Regions from separate parts of the Homo sapiens genome. Here region 1 is linked to region 2. The links are contacts of gene promoters, found by promoter capture Hi-C in blood cells and fetal thymus (Javierre and others, 2016). All regions are on one chromosome and are shown on one strand. The core of a region is centred on a gene start or on the middle of the fragment in contact, and the rest is flanking DNA. Distances in the headings are between cores, read along the strand shown. Region 1 holds the start of MBNL3 (muscleblind like splicing regulator 3). Region 2 holds the start of FMR1-AS1 (FMR1 antisense RNA 1).

Region 1 (6,080 bases), core at 871-3,370, about 15 Mb after region 2:
GTATCGGACACCATCCCTGCGCATTGTCCCAATGACTTTCACGATACTTGCCAAAACCATCGGGGGTTTTCTCAATTATTTGAAGGGCAGTTTGTACCCAGTCTTGTCCTCCCAGCCATTACCATCCTACTCTATTATCTTGCACTTAACAAACAGATTGATTTCTTGCCTAAAATTAGCTGGAGAATTCTATTTGGATCAGTCCATCAGAATTAAAAAGTATAATTAGCCTGAGAATTCACTCCACTTTTCAACCTAACTGCTGCTTAAATATCTCCTGCAATGTTTTGCACTTTGTGCAGAGCATGTAGAACTCTGTCTCTGGGTGAAGTAGCTGATTACAGGAAAGCAGCCATGAATTGCTATGAGCTTGTCACTGACGATCCTGCATATGTGTGCGTTATCAACTACAATTGTCTTCGTAAAATTAAATAAAAGCACGCATTTATTATTGTGGGGCTCCAATTAAGGGACAGCTGGTGCTCCTATTACACTTGCATTAAATCGAAACTTGTAATTTCCCTGTGCAGATGCACACTTTTTAATCAAGATATAAAATTGCATTTGCTTTGTCCATTTTCCAAAGTATCTGGAACCTTACCTCAGGGTTCCTCTTATCCTGCAAACTCCGTGGAAGAAGGGGAACAGATTGCACTGATCAGCATTTCCCTGTCTGAAATTCTTAGAGGGAAATAAACGATTGGGGCATTTATGAAAGATAAAACCCCCAAGAAGGCAGCTGGTGAGTATGAATGTATTTATTTAGCCTGTAGCGAGTGGACTTATTCATCGACTAAGATCAATTTTGAAAGGACCCATTTCGCCTCACCTGTCTGGGAAGTGTCTATGAGCGTCCCGCTGTGAACCACACTGCCTTTCTCACTGGCACTTCAGTTCCTGAAGAGCCAGAAACTTTGCACCCCTACCCCAACCCCGCCTCTGGGGATGTGTGCCTGCTTCGTTTGTTTTCGCTTTTGTAAAATCTGAGCGTTATGATTTGTCCCCCTTTCCCTTCCTAATGAAATGACAAAGGGTCTGTGCAGCGGGGGCTGGGCTGCTGGGTTTGGGGGCGAGGCGCCACACCCCCTGAGAATAAAGCCCGCGCTGCGCTCTCGGAGAACCAGGCACGAGTGAGCGAACCACACAAAGAATATATTTCGCGACGAAACAGCGCCCTACAGGAAGAAAGTGCCCGCACTCCGAGCGTGAGCCGCAGCGCGACTTTTTGGCGCTCTTTGGGAGCAGTGAGAGAGAGGCGGAGGCCAGAGAGTCCGGGGTGGGCGCGGGAGCCGGGGCGGCCCTTGGCCGCATTCCCGCCCGTCCCGCAGCGGCGCGCGGAGCCAGGTGAGGTTGGCGGCGGCGCCGCGCTACCTGGCCGGGCGGGGCGGGGCCGGGCGGCCGCGTGCGCCGCTTCCGAGTCCGGCGCTCCGGATGCCCGCCCGCGCTCCGCTGGCCCGCGGAGTTTCGCGGGAGTTTCCGTTTTGGCGCCTAAAGCCCCTCGCTGGCGCCGTTTCCCTCCGCGTGCCGCGTCTGTCCGGCGCGGGACGCACGGAGGCGCGGCCCCAGCCCGGGCTGCCTGGGGTCGGCGGGGCTGCGCGAGGGGACGTCTGGCGTCCGGCGGAGGGCACTGGCCCGGGAGGAGGGCACGCCTTTGGCAAAGGCCGGGCGGGGTTGGGACCGGGGTTGCTATGGTAGCTGCGAGCCCGGGCGGGAGCCCCACGCCCGGCCTCCGCGAGGGAGCTGGGGCGCTCCGAGGTGTGCTCCGAGTGGACTGAACCAAGAGCCTGGGAGGAGCGGGTAGGGCCGGCCCGTGGCCTTGTCCCCTCCTCCCACAGCCCGCCGGCCGGCCCCGGGAAGGGGCCTCGAGGAGCCCAGAAAAGAAAGTATTCTGGCCCCTGGAACCGAAAGGAGTCTTGCAAAAAGCACGAAGGGGTCAAGGGGGCCGAAGGGAGAGGGGGAACCGTCGCCTCCGTCCGAGAGTCAGCGTGCGCGTGTCTGTAGACTTGACATTTTATACCCCAGAGCGGCCGACTTGGAGCCGGGTTGCAAGTCCCAGCCCTGAAGTTCTGGAGGTGGGGCGGGCTTTAATTTGCTTATATCTAATGATTTCAGGAACCTCGCTTTAAAATGGCGGCATTCAGTATGCACCCCTGCTAAAGGCTCTCCCGGCACCGGGGCCACCTCGCGCAGCGCTGCTTTTGCTTCTGCCGCTAACAGATGGCATGTGCCGCTGTCGCTGCCGCTGCCCCTGCTGCTGCCGCTGAGAGCAGGGCCCCTTAGCCTCTGGGTTTGCGCTAGCAGCGTAAGGTAAGGCTGGAGATGAATTGGGATTTGTAAGAGAGGCTGCCTTCCTCGGACGCCGAGGAAATAATGCCTTTTAAACTTCATTTTACAAAATAGCAAATAGGAGGAAAAGTCATCCTGCAACTTTGTTGCGATTTTAGAGCTTTGATCATTTTCCTCCTCCTTTCCTCCTCCTCCTTTTTCTTCTTCCTTCTCTTCCTCCTCTTCTCTTCCTCCTCCCCTTCCTTCCTTCTTTCTTTTTTTCTACTTTCTTCTTTTTAATTTAAAGGAACTTCTTGCATGGCATATAATCAGCAAATGCTTTTTAACAACGAATTTCCCCATTTTCACGCGATATCGTGAGCAGTGCCACAGCTTCCTTGCAGAACCTTGTCTCTTCCTGCCCTGAGTCAACACGTTTGGGCAGCTCGCTTTTACTACTGGGGTTTGAAGGGCATGAGAGTAGATTTTAGGAGACTATTAAAAAGGGAACTTTAGTTTTTAACACTCACACAATAAGCTTTTATGGTAAGAAAACGAAATTAAACCCAGACGAGTAATGAAAGTTGACATTTAAGTGATTCTTTGTTGTGGTTTCATAATTAGGGTAATAGACCTACTGTGTGTTTTTCTGAGCACTCTTAGATAGCTAGCTAGCTAGCTAGCTAGCTAGATGATAGATAAAACAGATAAATTAATTGTGGCTCTAATTAAAGTAATATGTTTTAAAGGAGTTATTTTCTCCTAGATGTTCTTACATCGTTTGTAAATTGAGCTGGGATCCCCACAGCCTCTCCGTATTTGTGGGTAGACTTCATGGGAAAGAATCAATTAAAACAAAACTTGCAAGATTTAATTTTGAAGTGATTGGTACTTTTTTTATTAAGCGGACTCCCTGCTTTAGTGAATAAACGTTTGGGTGATTACTGATATAATGTTTGGAAAACAGATTGTTGGTATGTGGGAATGACTAAACATCCATGCTTGATACAATTTATCTGAATTTTGTTTTGTTTTGTTTCCCCCTCCAGTGAAAGGTAAATAGACAATGAGGCTTATCAGACACCTTGGATTTTTCCTGATTATATTTCCATCTTCTCCTTGGCCCATGAAAATCTAATCCTGAATGTTTAACTACTTTTTAAAATAATTTTTAACTTTTTTCTAATGTGCGATACTTTTGGGGGATGCTTTCATATTTACCAACACTTCTTCAAATATAGACTAAAATGGGCTTCTGCCCACAGCTCAGCTGATAATATTCTATCGCTGTTCACTCCTTCTCCCAAAGCAGTAGAAACTACTTGGTTGGCAGACGCTCTGCTACTAAATTTAGCAAGTGTGTGGAAAGGGAGAAAAATATTGTTTTGCCCTTATTAAAGCATGGTGCAGTTTTCTGCCCAGGTGCTGTAGTCTACCTAGAAACAAACAACCAAACTGTTTACAATGGAATTACTATACAACAAATTTTCAGCAGTTTTTCATATTATTCTTGAAAGAAGTATGTGGGGCAATTCATTGCTTCATGTCTAAAATGAGAGTTCCTGCAGGTAGAGCAATAAACACTTGCATTTTGGTAAAGGGAGGATGAGAAAAAGCAACTTCTCCCATTTTTAGTGATTATGGACTTAGATCCCAGTTCAGTACTGTTTGCTTCCGGATGTGCTACCTTGCTGCTAAAAGACTTCGGACCAAATGCATCCTTAAAAAAAAAGAAAAAAAGAAAGAAAGAAAAGTGAAAATACTAAACCTTGAGGCCAGAATAGACAAGCTAAACTGGTGTCAGAGAAATTAGGAAATTTTGCCAGTTAACATTCTGCTGCCTCATACAGTGATGAGATTGGAGACCTTATATGAAAACATAAGTGAAGGAGTTTGTAAAAAAAAAATGTTTTGAGAGATAATTGATATAGTGCTGGGCTAGAGGTGGTGACTGCATGTTTTGCTCTACTTCTAAGAGCTACTTCATTTCTCTAATTTCCTTTGCTACTTTAAGCAATCGTAATGACTCCCAGGACTATTATAAAGTACCTTTTTTTTCCTCAACTGTCCACTTCAGGCATTTCACAACAGCTGCTTTTTATGATTATGAGCTGGTAGCAAAGGACCTTTGGTATTCTCTTGCACCACCCTCTACCTAGATAATGCTTTGCACAAACTAGGTGCTTAATAAATGTTACATTAAAAAGAAGAATAGCTTATAAACTCACAGTGGAATAGATTTTGGGTACAGCTTTTAATTTAAACGGAAGGCATTTTTATGCACTCACAAGAACCTAAACATTCAAAGAAGAGTAGAATGTACATTCCCCTAGTTGTCTGCATTGTATTTGCTTCTAAAGGGTTCTCTTGCCTCTCATTGTACTTCCAGGCACTTGTATACTTCATGCTTTTGACCAGTAGGTGTATTATTATCTCTCCAGCTTCACTGTGATACTTCCCAGTATCACAGCAGCTTGGGAATAAAAAAGGTTTTGTCTTTTGAGTGATTGTATAGTACCACACATGCTGGAACAGTGACAGTCTCTTGACTGTTGTGCAGATGTTGACAGTATAGTTTAGTACAGTTTTGTTCTCCACCCAGCTGCCTTTATGTGTGAGGGACGAGGGGAGGGAATGGAGTGAGAAGCTCTAAAATGATGAAGATTTCTATTGATAACATTTTACTTTTATTCTGCTTATAGTACAATAAATTCAGGAAGGTGGCAGAATTTTTCTGTTTTCAAATAAATAATGTTGCCTGATAGGCTTACAAACAGGGATTGGGGCATAGCTGACAGTACATAAGTTATAGTACATTTTTGACAAGTAATTTCATCCTGTAATTAAAGTTAGATAATGGTCACTGCCATGTTAACATTATCAAGTGTCTGTAAGAGCATGAAGGCTACACTCACCTTTACTTCATCAAGGTTCTTCCATGCTGGTGAGTTTTCTTATGACATTGTCTACTAGGCAAAACAGATGGATTTTTCCTCATTCAAATGTATGTGATATCAAGAAAATAGAAATCAGAAGTTGTGTTTGTGGGATTTTTCTGCCTTTCTCTAGGTGTGATATAGCTCTCACTTCAAATATAGAAAGAAACCCGAGCCTCAGCTAAAATGAGATGGACACTTTTCCTGAAAGAGAAGAAACTGTGTCTGGGAGCAAGTTGTTTAATTGTCAATTAACCAACCAGCAAACAAACATAAATTATAACTGAAAGAAAGCAATTAGATCTTTCATAATGTGGGCTTTTAGGTCTTAAGGATACCAGATGGTTCCATGACATTCTGTTCTTCCTAAATGGTTATCTATTGCCTCAAGATAGCCAAATGACAGTGTTGGAAAGGCAACTTTGAGAATTAGGATAAATAAGGTATCAGTTGTCTTAATGGATGTTAATAACATCCACATGACCTGAAAGGGATAAGAAAATATTTTTTCAGATCATTGTAGTAAAAATGCATTATTAACTCATCATTTAGATCTGCTTGGTATTAGATTGAGTGACATTGTTTTTAAAAGATTGATGGAGAAAACAATACAATCTGGGAAGTAGGACCTTATCATTTTTATTTGAGAAATAATGGGACTTCCAAATTGCCTGGGCACACAAACACACACGTACATGAGTGTACAAATTAGTGGTCAATTCAAAACAATGTATACAGATGTGCATTGCTTTCTCACTGGAAGATTATAGGAAAATATTTTTACAGTATTCCTCCAATTCTAAGAATGAAATAAAAAAGTTCACTGTAAACTATTATAAATATTTGATATAGTGATGTCACTCTGAGGCTCAGGAAAAG
Region 2 (6,792 bases), core at 3,753-6,252:
TTGCAGTGAGCTGAGATCCCACCACTGCACTCCAACCTGGGCGACAGTGAGACCTGTTGAAAGAAACAAAGAAACAAAGAAACAAACTAAAGAAACAAAGAAACAAACCAAAGAAACAAAGAAACAAACCAAAGAAACAAAGAAACAAACTAAAGGAGCAAAGGAGAGAAATGAAGGAAAGAAAGGAAAAAAGAAAAGGAAAGAAAAAAGGAAGAAAGGAAAGAAAGGAAAAGAAAGGAAGAAAGGAAGAAAGAAAACCAAAAAAGAAAACCAAGAAAGAAAACCTGCAGGAGACAGGATAGGGACATAGGAAATGTGATAACAGTATGATTCAAACCCAAGGCTTCATATATAAAGCAAGTTATCATTTTGTCCCCACTCCCCCCGCCCCGTTGTATGGGGACACTAACAACATAAAAGAATAAAGAGAGACAATAAACCTCATCAACAGTCCTTCCAACCATACCACATGTCCAGGACTTCATATAGGCTACAAATTATGTGAAAAACACATTTAGCTTCACTCTGACCAAAAGACAACAGAGACATGTGCAAAGAAAACATTATTAAATTAGTTACTAATTTTTCTTGTGTGTATGTATTCTAACTTTTGAATACTTCAGTTTTATGAGCTCCCAATATAACAAAGACAAATTTCCTAGCAGGGTCAAAGATTTCTAACTTTATCTTTCCTTAACAGGCATCCACATGAAGAAGTACAGCGCCAAGGTTCAAGAATTAGTAACAAAAAAAGCTGGCACATAAACTGAATTATTTCATGATGGCTTTGTATTAACAATAAAAAATGGTAATATAACACTGTAACTATAGTTATAGGATGCTAAGGCAGTGTTATAGCACAAAATACAATCAAAGACCACCATGAAATTGAAAACTAAGCAGGAAATCAAACCAATTTCTTCAAGCTAAATTTCATCATTTCAGGAATTCAGAATCCTGACCCTTAATGGCCCTGACACTTGGTAGTAAGTCACTTACCTAACCTCTCTGTGCATCATTTAAAGAATGGGAATAACAACAATACATCAAATAAAGTATCAGAGAGAACAGTGCCTGGCACCTAGAAAGTACTCATCCCCTGTTAACTATTATTATAATCACGATCCCAATCTTCTCAGGAAGCACATTCCTATAGTGGGCAGAAATCAGAAACTCCAGTAATATACCACTGAATGTTGCATCTAATTAATAATTTGGAGGTTATGAGAATATTTAAGTATGGGGTTAGAAAATGCACAGTTCAAAAGGGGAAAAATGATGCAGCCACAAAGATCCTAAAAACTAAAAAGGGCAATCAGACTGTAGGAAGGAAAAAAAATGTGGTTGACCCCAATAATTCACTTCCTCGAAGTACAGAATAACACCTTTATGCAAAGTTAGCTCAGGAGACTTCAGAGAAACCACGAGTGCAAGTTTATTTACACTTTACCCAAGTTGATTTATAAACTTATAAATTTATAAACCTTATGCAAGTTTATTTGTAGTAAAACTGATTTTACTACATTTCAGCTATGTATCTGAAATGACATGTTAGACCACTAATATCTTCATTAAAAATATCCTTTTGATTGTACACTTTATCATATTTAGCTGCTAGCTGCCATAATACTACTAACCAAATGAAAGTCTGTCCTCAAACACTGAACTTAAAAAAGTATAATCTAACAACAAAATTACAATCTAGTATAATTACACCATATTACAACAAGGAATCAGAAATCAGAGGTTGTATTTTCAGAAAACAAAAAGGTTTGTATCTTATGTCTCCAACATGTGATTTTTCCATCTTTAGTAATTTTCATACTAGTACACAAAACCTACAAATCTTAGGATTCATTAGGGCATTCATATTGGAGTGATACGCATTCTACATTTAAAATGGAGTTAATTCATTACCATTCTCAACACATCAAAACTTCTAGTCCAAAGAAAACAAATTATGTGGGGCAGATGCACCTAGAATAAAGACTTTATTTCATCATTATTCATTTAGAAAATACTTTGTAAAGATTTTATGAGGTGTAAGTCAAAGTGCCTTCATATCTTAACACCTGCAGGGCACTATAAAGTGGTACACGTGACCAATTTTTTCTAAGTCAAACAAATACCTAAGCATAAAAGTAGTGGCTCTGGTGATCGCTAAATCTAACTTTTAAGTTTTTAAGAATAAACACCAGAAGATAGAGAGCTGTCCTTGCAAATATGGTGGTTATGTTAGGCAAATCAAAGTCTGAATTCCATTATACTCAAGTTGTTTGATTTGTTTAGTTTTAAAAGCTTTTCTATCAATTTGATGAACAAGGTTCCTATTTCTTTTTCCATAAATGTAACACTTCTCCACAGCAGTTCATTTTTCATTGGTTTTTATTTCACATCTTTCCTGTCCATCCCACTGGACAAGCAACTCAGTTTACTTTTGCTTTACTTTTAAAACTCACAGCAGTATTATAAGTCATATAAAAATTTCAAGCTTTTTTGTTACAGAAACTGTTCTTCCATCAGTGCAGACCATTTGAGATTTTCTTAGAAATCAAACTTAATTAAATAAACATAACAGCAATTTGTCTGACACACACTTGTTCAAGTATTAACATTTCTCCTCAGGGAACTAAGGGGCAACCAACCTATTCTTCATTCACCTTCAAGTTAAACAACTTCGTTACAAAACAAAACAAAAAAGGAGGGAATTAATAGCAAAAATAGAAGGCATTTCTTATATTCCAGTCAGTGTGCAAGCAAAATCACTGGAGCAAATCATAAGTTGCTGGAAGAGAACAATAAGTACTTCAAGGCCATAATGTGCTACTTGCCCTCTGTGATAAGCAAACTTTAGTGGCATCCAATCTAAGTTTATATCACAGGTCAATCAAAATCTTGCCTAACCATTAGCCGTTACTCACACATATATATGTATATGTATTATAGTTATTAGTGCCAGAAATCTAGTGACCAAAACCACTAATCTAGGACCGTGAACGATTCTACGCAAACTCACCAGAAGAAATTATGGATCAATAAAATCAATGAAATTAAAATTTTGACTGCAGAGTCAACTGAAACAATTTCATATTCATGAGACTGTTAAGAACATAAACGCGGGGTTACCTTTTGCCTCCTTTTACAGCAAAAGGCTTTATCTTTGTGCTCAAAGTATGGAACAGTTTACATACTTTACTCATTTATGAAATATACTGATCTCCAAATGTCTTCATAAAATTGGTAAACACAGAATAAAGTCAATTGTTTATTTTCCTATAGCCAAACGTGTCCTGTCTGAAACATTCAAGCCATTCTACAATACATTTAAGAATTGTGTTGGACACTGCTAATAGCTATTTTCCAGCCTTCCTTCCACACGCACCTTCTATTGCCAAAATACTGTAGTAAGGTGGGATATTATTGAAAGAGGTTATAGACATTCAAAAGGAAATGAGAATTTATAGATGAATTTATACAGCACCTACATACCAACAAACGCACTACTGCTACATCAAATTTGTAAATCTTCCTTTTAAAACTGAAAGGTGTTAGTTGATCTGCAATGGTGTAACTTTAAAAAGCACAGTAAACCCATGAATGCCTATATAAAGCCTCAACAATTCAGTCCACTGCAACACCACAAATTCAAAGGAAATGTGGTCAAGTTCTTAGGGGCACAAAAATATTTTCGCTCAGTTAAAAAAAAAATGCCCTAGTAATAATATACTCTCAGTTAATTACCTGAAGTTTCATGGCATATATTTAGGTCTTTGGAAACTTAAACACACACACACAATTTTTAAGTAGCAGCGCTGCTAATGGTTTTAGACGCTGAAGCATGTGCATTCCTGAATTTACCCCGTTTAACAAAAAGGGGGACGCGAATATTCACGATGATCAACTTCTTCAATGCACTGCTGGGCCATGTTAGGGTCTTCCTGAAACTTTTGGATCTAAAATCTCCTCCGAAATCCACAAAGAGAAGCCACTAAAAATCAGTTGCCATTGTGATTTGGTGCCGACTACCGCTTCTTACTACTCTTTCTTCACAGCCCTCGCCCAGAACAGTGGAGCTCTCCGAAGTCCCAATGCTAGACCGGAAAAGAGAAGCCAAAGGAGACCTGAAGCCCTCTTGGCGCTGCAGGAGGCGGCCCGGCTGAAGCGCCCCCCGCTCCTCCACAACTACCCACACGACAGGCCCGGATCCCGCTGGGAGATGATGTTTAGGAAAGGGGGAATAAGCCATCGCCGTCACTTAGCGCCGATTTCGGCCCTTCCCGCCCGGCTCTAGTACCTGCCGCCGGCCCTCGCCCATCCCCAGCTCACCCCGGCGGGGCTCGGCGCCGAAAGAGAACCCTCTCCTCGCTGGTCTCTCATTTCGATAGGCGCTAGGGCCTCTCGGAGTCGGAGAGGGGCTTCCAACAGGCCCCAAGTCCAGTCCTTCCCTCCCAACAACATCCCGCCGAGCGTGCCCTGGCACCCAGGCGCGGTGCTCGGGAAGAGGGCCCCGGGCCTGCCTCCCGCCGACACCAAGAAGAAAAGGGAGGGAAGGAAGGGCGAAGATGGGGCCTGCCCTAGAGCCAAGTACCTTGTAGAAAGCGCCATTGGAGCCCCGCACTTCCACCACCAGCTCCTCCATCTTCTCTTCAGCCCTGCTAGCGCCGGGAGCCCGCCCCCGAGAGGTGGGCTGCGGGCGCTCGAGGCCCAGCCGCCGCCGCCGCCGCCGCCGCCGCCGCCTCCGCCGCCGCCGCCGCCGCCGCCGCCGCCGCGCTGCCGCACGCCCCCTGGCAGCGGCGCCTCCGTCACCGCCGCCGCCCGCGCTCGCCGTCGGCCCGCCGCCCGCTCAGAGGCGGCCCTCCACCGGAAGTGAAACCGAAACGGAGCTGAGCGCCTGACTGAGGCCGAACCCCCGGCCCGCTGCGGGTGTAAACACTGAAACCACGTCACGTGATCAACGCTGTTCCCTCCCCCCGCGGGCTCAGCCCCTCGGCCCCGCCCTCTCTCTTCAAGTGGCCTGGGAGCGCGCGCATGCGCGCTGCTGGGAACCGGCCGGGGTGCCGGGTCGAAAGACAGACGCGCGGGCCGGGCGTGCGCGGGCTTGGTGGAGGGCGGGAAGGCTGAAGGGCGGTGACAGGTCGCACTGCCTCGCGAGGGCCAGAACGCCCATTTCTGCAGAGGTGCACTCAGTGGCGTGGGAAATCAAATGCATCCGGTTATCCCAGTTCGGCCTCTCTGGGATTCCGCGGGAGGGGGTGTCTGGTCTGGTTTGGTTTGGTTTGGTTTGGTTTGGTTTGGTCCGGTTCAAAGTAGCGCAGTCTGACTGAGCGGGAGGTGGAGTGGAAGGCGAGAATAGGGGTGAAGGATTAGACAGAAGAAGACTTTGAACTAGGAACAGTGGCAACCAGGGTGACCCAGGCTTTTGTGACCCGTAGAGGCAGAAGGTGAGGCGTCTACGCCCTCTCTCACCAGATTTTGGGCGGCCCTGTGGAGACACCCTGTGCCCTTTAAGGGACATGGATTGAGTCGGGATCTCAAAATGTGAGCCTTTCCTCAGACCCAGCTTTGACCCACGTACTCGCCTTTCCTCAACTCATTTTCATACTTTCACTTGACTATATATTTTTTAAAAATTGTGTTAAGCACTTGAGGTTCATTTCTGCCCCTACTGTATGTGCACCCTGTGCCAGAGGGTGGGGTGAACACGTGTGTAGCAGTCATGCGTCCTGTCCACAGGGGCCGATGCACCTCCTTGCAACCCTTTACATTCCACTGTGAAACAAACCTCAACTTTTTCTTATTCCTGTTTTTACACCGTGCTTATAGCTGCCTTAATCCATGTTCCCTTCGGGATGCTGGTATCCAACTGAGAAGTTGACGGAGCATCTATCGTGTGCCAGACACTGTGCTAAGTGCTAACGAGAAATCGGTGAGCAAAACAGAAAAGAAAAAAAAAGAAGAAACGACTGCCAGCATTGAACTTAGTACCTAGCAAAGTAGGTGGACATAAATCAAATTGTCAGACAAGTAAATGAGTAGTTGCAGCTGTGATAAGGGGTATGAAGAATAGGCGCTTCCATGATGGCGGAACATGACCTAGTCTGGGGTGGAGAAGGGGAGATGATTCCAGCTGGAATATGGCAGGTGAGAGTTAACTAATAGCACTGAGTTGGCAGAGGCAGGATGACCTGCCCCAGGCAGGTGCCCCAGAATGAGAGGATGTTGCTGCTGGTGGAACTCCAGCTTTAAAGCGGTGGATCTAGGGCCACATTCCTCAAGGCCATAGCAAACAGGAAAGACCTTTTGGACTAGGGTCTTTGGAGTAGTCACATGAGGCCAAGAACCCAATAGGGCTGAAAGAGAATCTCATCATAGGCTGAATGGGAGCAGAGCATTAGCTGCAACTCCAATGTATTATAGTAAAAGGGGACACATTGATTAGAATGATTATACCCCTCCAAGTGTAAGCTGTTGTTCAATTTACCCAGGGCTTAAAAATATGTCAACTCTTCACAACCATTTTTACTACAAGCCACACTCAACCTGTGTTGTTCCCTGAACCTGTGATGCACTTTCATCCGTTCATGTCTCTACACATCCTTCCTGGGCCCCATAGAGGCCCTGCACCTTAAGGTTTTCAGCTGGATTCCTATTAGCTAGTTATTTTATCTCAGGTACAGAGAGTTAACTTTGCTCCTCAATTTTCAGCACATTGTCATATCAGTCCCTACAGGGTCCTTGTTTACATTATTTTATAGTGTTTATATTATTTTTTCCTCATCTTTCTCGATCCCC

Evidence for each region. The method cuts DNA at HindIII sites, captures the fragments that hold promoters and counts their contacts. A CHiCAGO score of 5 or more calls a contact.
Region 1: a contact is called between the fragment with the promoter of MBNL3 here and the fragment with the promoter of FMR1-AS1 in region 2, in 1 of 17 cell types (monocytes). The highest score is 5.4, in monocytes.

What each region holds. Positions count from the first base shown.
Region 1 is chrX:132,485,078-132,491,157 of GRCh38, reverse strand. It overlaps MBNL3 (muscleblind like splicing regulator 3), which reads left to right and starts at 2,120. Exons shown (of 9, transcript NM_001386889.1): 1 at 2,120-2,307. RefSeq lists a silencer at 1,272-1,841. The HindIII fragment of the contact is 7,236 bases long and covers 1-2,805 here.
Region 2 is chrX:147,910,027-147,916,818 of GRCh38, reverse strand. It overlaps FMR1-AS1 (FMR1 antisense RNA 1), which reads left to right and starts at 5,002. Exons shown (of 2, transcript NR_024503.3): 1 at 5,002-5,177; 2 at 5,824-6,792. It overlaps FMR1 (fragile X messenger ribonucleoprotein 1), which reads right to left and starts at 4,900. Exons shown (of 17, transcript NM_002024.6): 1 at 4,589-4,900. The coding sequence starts at 4,639. RefSeq lists enhancers at 4,480-4,579, 5,160-5,369 and a silencer at 4,740-5,079. The HindIII fragment of the contact is 5,224 bases long and covers 2,494-6,792 here.